2 separate regions of the Homo sapiens genome follow, and region 1 is linked to region 2. The links are contacts of gene promoters, found by promoter capture Hi-C in human tissues and cell types (Jung and others, 2019). All regions are on one chromosome and are shown on one strand. Each heading gives the region's core, a stretch centred on a gene start or on the middle of the fragment in contact. The rest is flanking DNA. Distances are from core to core; before and after follow the strand shown. Region 1 has its middle 38 kb from the start of ZNF248-AS1. Region 2 holds the start of ZNF248 (zinc finger protein 248).

Evidence for each region. Contacts are between HindIII fragments. The study calls those that stand out against the background at their distance.
Region 1: a fragment that was not itself captured here is called in contact with the fragment with the promoter of ZNF248 in region 2 in 2 of the 25 tissues and cell types used here (mesenchymal stem cells and mesendoderm cells).

Annotation. Positions count from the first base shown.
Region 1 is chr10:37,894,158-37,897,166 of GRCh38, reverse strand. It overlaps the pseudogene ZNF33CP. Among named protein-coding and RNA genes, the nearest start is that of ZNF248-AS1, 38 kb to the right of the region's middle. The HindIII fragment of the contact is 3,993 bases long and covers 1-3,009 here.
Region 2 is chr10:37,856,143-37,858,981 of GRCh38, reverse strand. ZNF248 (zinc finger protein 248) reads left to right here and starts at 1,372. Exons shown (of 6, transcript NM_021045.3): 1 at 1,372-1,797; 2 at 2,450-2,547; 3 at 2,645-2,686. The coding sequence starts at 2,672. ZNF248-AS1 (ZNF248 antisense RNA 1) reads right to left here and starts at 1,233. Exons shown (of 2, transcript NR_186559.1): 1 at 481-1,233. RefSeq lists silencers at 880-1,429, 1,126-1,502 and an enhancer at 1,820-1,879. The HindIII fragment of the contact is 12,949 bases long and covers 1-2,839 here.

The DNA of each region.
Region 1 (3,009 bases), core at 138-2,637, 38 kb before region 2:
GTGAGGCAATGCCTCGCCCTGCTTCGGCTCGCGCACAGTGCACGCACCCACTGACCTGCGCCCACTGTCTGGCACTCCCTAGTGAGATGAACCCGGTACCTCAGATGGAAATGCAGAAATCACCCGTCTTCTGCGTCGCTCACCCTGGGAGCTGTAGACCGGAGCTGTTCCTATTTGGCCATCTTGGCTCCTCCCCGTCTATTCTCTTATTTACTTTGGAAGATGACTTATGGTAAAAGGTTTGCCAAATTCTTTACATTCACAGGGGTCATGTCCTATTTGATTTCTCCTACGTATTTTCAGGTATGAATTGCTTGAGAAAGATTTCTCTCATTTCTACATTTATAAGCTTTTTCCCATGTGTATCCTTGGATGTGCTATGAGACTTGATTTCTCAGAGGGTTTCCCACACTGGTTACATTCATAGGGTTTCTCCCTTGTACTTCTCTGATGTACTTTGAGGCCTGAGCTGCAACTGAAGCTTTTCCCACACTGATTACATTCATAGGGTTTCTCTACTGTATGTGTTCTCTAATGTTTAGTGAGATCTGACTTATGATAGAAGGACTTCCCTCATTCATTACATTTATAAGGTTTTTCCCCTGTGTGTATTCTCTGATGTACAGTAAGGACTGATTTCTCAGAGAAGGACTTCCCACACTCATTACATCCATAGGGCTTCTCCCCTGTGTGTGTTCTCTGATGTGATTTGAGGACTGAGTTGCAAATAAAGGTTTTCCCACATTTATTACAGTAATAAGATTTCTCCCCTCTGTGTGTTCTCTTATGTACTGTATAGTCTGCCTTATGGTAGAAGGTTTTCCCACATTTTTTACACACATAGGGTTTGTCTCCTGTATGCATTCTCTGGTGTATTGTAAGGTATGAATTCCTAGAGAAGAATTTCCCACATTCCTTACATTCACAGGGCTTCTCACCTGTGTGTGTTCTCTGATGTTTGGTTAGGTCTGATTTATTGTAGAAGGTTTTTCCACGTGCATTACATTTATAAGGTTTTTCCCCTGTGTGTATTCTCTGATGTACTGTGAGGACTGATTTCTCAGAGAAGGATTTCCCACACTCAGTATATTCATAGGGTTTCTCCTTTGCATGTGTTCTCTGATGTACTTTTAGGCCTGAGTTACGACTAAAAGTTTTCCCACATTGAGTACATTCATAGGGTTTTCCCCCTAGGTGAGTCTTCTGATGTTTAGTGGCATCAGACTTGTGGCAAAAGGTTTTGCTACATACCTTACATTCATAGGGTTTCTCGCCTGGGTGAGTTCTCTGATGTATTGTAAGATATGAACTCCTAGAGAAAGATTTCCCACATTCATTACATTCATAGGGTTTCTCACCTGTATATGTTTTACGATGTATTGTGAGAACAGAGTTGCTTATGAAGGTTTTTCCACATTGATTACATTCATAGGGTTTCTCCCCTGTGTGAATTCTCTGATGTACTGTAAGATATGACTTATGATAGAAGCTTTTTCTACATTCCTTGCATTCACAGGGTTGCTCTCCTGTGTGAGTTCTCTGATGTATTATGAGGTGTGAATTCCTAGAAAAGCATTTCCCACATTCCTTACATAGGGTTTCTCTCCTGTGTGGACTCTCTGATGTAGAGTGAGGAGAGATTTCCTAGAAAAGCATTTTTCACATTTATTACATTCATAGGGTTTCTCCCCTGTATGGATTCTTTGATGTTTGGTTAGCTTTGACTTTTCATAGAATGGTTTTACACATGGCTCACATCCACAGACTTCCTCTCCTCTGTGTGTTCTCTGAGTTACATTAAGTACTGACTTCTCGCACAAAGCTTCCCCTGATTTGTTACTTTCAAATATTTTCTCTCTTGTGTTAGGAAAGCTTGATCTGTTAAAATTCCTACACTTTCAATATGTTTATAGTGTTTCACCTCCAAATGAACTTTATGTTTCAAGAAAGGGGACTTCTCAAAGGTTTTTTCATATTCATTAAACTCATAAAAGTTTTCTCTTTTTTCTGACATTTTATGGACCATGAGAGTTGAATTATTACAGAACACTTTATTACATTCATTGTGTACACAAGGACTCGCTCCTGTGTAAGCTTGCTTATATGTAATGAAAACTGCCTTTCCATAGAAATCCTTTTCACATTCCTTATATTCAAAAGATTGCTCTAAATTTTGAATTCTCAGATATGAAATGAAGTCCTCCTTATGACTGAGACATTTTCCATTTTGAATAAACTCATAAGGTTTCTCTTCCATATGAGTTTTTTCATGGTTACTATTGAGGAATAGTTTTCCATATGCACTGAGGTCATGAGGCATCTTTCTTAAATAGTTTTTCTTACTATTAAATAAATCTGAAATGTATTGCAAACTCATACCACATAAGTCACATTTACAAGGTATTTTTATGGAAGGAAGTTGGTGTATGCTGAAATCAAACACTTTTCCTACTATGTTACCTCTCTCTATAGTCAGTGTTCTATTGTTGATATATGGAGCTTGCCAGATATGTCTGTCCTGGATTTCCTGACAGTGCTCTAGTTGATCATCCACTTTGCAGACTTCTAGAAATAAGAAAAAATAACCACAACTTATGAGTCTTGTGATATTTGTGATGAAATTACACTTACATACATACGCGCTTTTATATGTAGTTGACTTAGTTTCCTGGAATAAAGTAATCCAAAAAGTGTTAATCTCCTCCAGCCCTTTGGCTAGAAGAAAATAAACATGAAACCTTATAATGTGGAAAGTAGGGTGGAAATTTAGAACACACAATGGGCAATTTACAAATACGTACTTTGAAACAACACAGAGGTTACAAATAACCATAAAGCACAGTGAATATAGAATAGACACAAATAATGACATAAAACATTAGATATAAAAATGATACTAAAAATATATAAAATAAATAATATAAATATAAAAATGGCTAATCTAGAAATGGGACATGCAGAGAATGAGGGGGCAAGGAAAACTAGTAGTTAACAGTGTTCTAGAAAAAT
Region 2 (2,839 bases), core at 123-2,622:
TTTTGATAAATATACCATGGTCATGTAAAATACTAACACTAGTGGAATCTGGGTGAAAGGCATATAGGAACTATTTTGCAACTCTTCTGTAAATCTGAAATTATGAGCAAATGAAAAGTTTAAAAAAGTGGACAATGACCCAGGAGTTGATTTTTTAAATGAAAAGTTGTAACACACGCACATGCTCATAGTGTGCTGAAAATGCCAGATGTGCACGTAAAAGAATGTACGTGTAGTGTAGTTCTGGGTAAAGTATGGTTGGTTTTGGGAAATGAGTGCGTGCTTTCTTCTTCAAATTTGTTACTCAAACGGCTTTTTTTTTTTTAAACATATAAACAATTTTATGTTTGGGTCTTGAATTGCTAGCTTCTGTTTTTCCTTATTCCAGAGAATAACCATACTGGTCACAGATTTTAGTTTTCTCTTCCAGTCTTTCAGTTAAACGTTACCATGCATGATCGTGAATGAATTCAAGCACACCTTTCCTTCTCTTGGCTTGTGTCTAACAGGCACATTGATTTGATCCACAACCTCTGGGGACACTGACAGAATCCTGGTTCCAAGCAGGAGTGGGTAACTGAGACAGTAATCTCTCAACCCACTATACAAGGCTGTTTTGCAGGAGAGCCTTATGATGACCAGCATGATATATAATTGTGAGAAATATACTGAACAATTTATGTGTCAGACACCGGTTTAAATGCTTTTACAACGTAAGCGCCTCCAATTCTCATAAAACCCCTGCTAGGTAGGCACTATCAGCCTCATTTTACAACTGAGGGTTGCGGCCAGAGCTGACAGGCACCGTCTAGCGCCGCTTCCAAGCCCCGCATCGCATCCACCAGCCTAACTCGGGCGCTCGGCCTCTCCCTCTGCGCATGTGCATCCCCGCCTCCCGCTCCAGGCGAGTCCTTCCCTGGACTCCAGTCCCTTGTGGGAAACAATCCCTCGCCTCCGGAGGCGGCGAGGAGCGGCGGGTGAGCCCCGGAGCACTGGGCGAGGGCCAGGGGGTCCCCGCGCTGCCCTGAAGGCGGGCGGGCGGCGGCTAGACCTCGGCGGTGGGGAGGGACCCCTGGCGCCTGCGGCGACGGTGGGACGAGGGCGTCTCTGTCAGAAGGGGATGAGGTCTGGCGTGGGAACGCGAGTTCCGGGGCTCCCGGGGGTCCGTATGCGTCCAGTCCCTGCGCCTGGCGCTCAGCGAAGTCCTGTAGCACGGGGTAGGCAATGCGCACTGGCCCGAAGGGGAGGGAACTGGCTGCGGGGAGGGGACAGCACGCGCGTGCGTAGCGTGTGACGTTTGTTGTGCGCGTGCGCATGGCGTTTGATGTGTGCGTGTGCGCTTTTTGTGCCCTGAGCCCGCGGGGAGGAGGCGGGGCTGCGGGGGAGAGCGACTGCGCCAGGTCCGCGACAAATGAATTAGACACAATTATCCACGGGAGACTCGGTTTTCCTCTCTGTAAATTACGGATATTAGGAATACTTGCCGCCTGGGGTTGTTTTGAGCACTTTCATTGTTTAGGTGCTGTATTTATTGGGTGTGCGTTCCCTGGGAGAGCCCGAGGGAGACGGCTCCTGCACCGGCCCCAAGGGCCTCTCTGCCCGTGGAGTGCAGGAGCGAAGGGGCTGGCCTAGCTGACCACCAGGGCCCCTGCTGGCTCTGACCGCCCTCCTATCCCAAGTAATTATTTACACGTTTCGCGTTCGCTTATGTATTATGTGTAATCATGGCACAGTATCCTGAAGCCGTCGGAGTCTGTGTGCTGGTGCAAGGTCTGGGACAAATTTAAGAAGAGAGAGGTGAGCTGGAGCTGAGGGGTGGGCGCGCAGGCTAACAGGAACGTCACCTCTGGAGAGTCTGAGGGCAGGGACGGGTGAAAGGCTCACGGCCACAGCGAAAGAAATGCTGTTATCACCCCTCCGCGAACACCGGGCACATCCAGATGAGCTGCTGAGCTTCCTCCTCTCTTGGCCTGATATCCCCGCCGGATGGTAGTGCAGTCAGGTCATACTTGGGTTATCTGTTTTGACCTTATTTGAAAGATGGAAAAACAAAATTGAGTTTGAGGAGGTGAGTAGTTCAGATCTTGTCATTCCTTAGAGGCAGAACTGAGATTAGAAGTCAAGTCTGCAGTTTCCCGAGCCACTGCTGCCCATTTTGTTACTCTATATCACAGTTTCTCATTAAAAGATCCTTTTGAGGAATTGTTAGCAAGTTAGAACAAACATTTTTAAACTTGCATTTAACATCCTATCCCTTTTTTTAGAGGTCTTTTGCATTATCTAACCTCAGGGCATTAATGGTGTTAACAGGTAAACAGATAAACAATATGGCCTCAGTTTTTTTTTTTCCCTACAAGGAATTTTGACAAACCCATAGTGTTTTTTCCTTCAGATTACTGTTAACTTGTTAAACTCATCTTTTCATGTTTTTAATTTTTCTGTGTCACAGAACCTAAATTGGTAATAAATCAATAAGAAATATTTACATTCACTCAGTGAAAAGTGTCATGTCTGAGCTCAGCATATATCGGAGCCACACATGGACACGTAAGTATCTTGTGTGTGGACCTGTATAGGCAGGTGAATCTCCGAACTGCAAGGCCGGCGAAGGCTCTCCTGACATTCTTCCTTTCTAATCCTTCAGCTCTCCTTCCTCCACTAAGAGCGGAAAATGAACAAATCCCAGGTGAGATTCTTGTTTCTTTATTCCCAGTTTGTTTAAAAATGGATTTCTGAAGTTTATAAGGGTTTATGTTTTGAAAATGGAAAAATAGAAATAGGCAAAAATTGACATTAAGGGAAATAAAACTGAAGTAGCAAATCCAAAATAGTGCAGTTG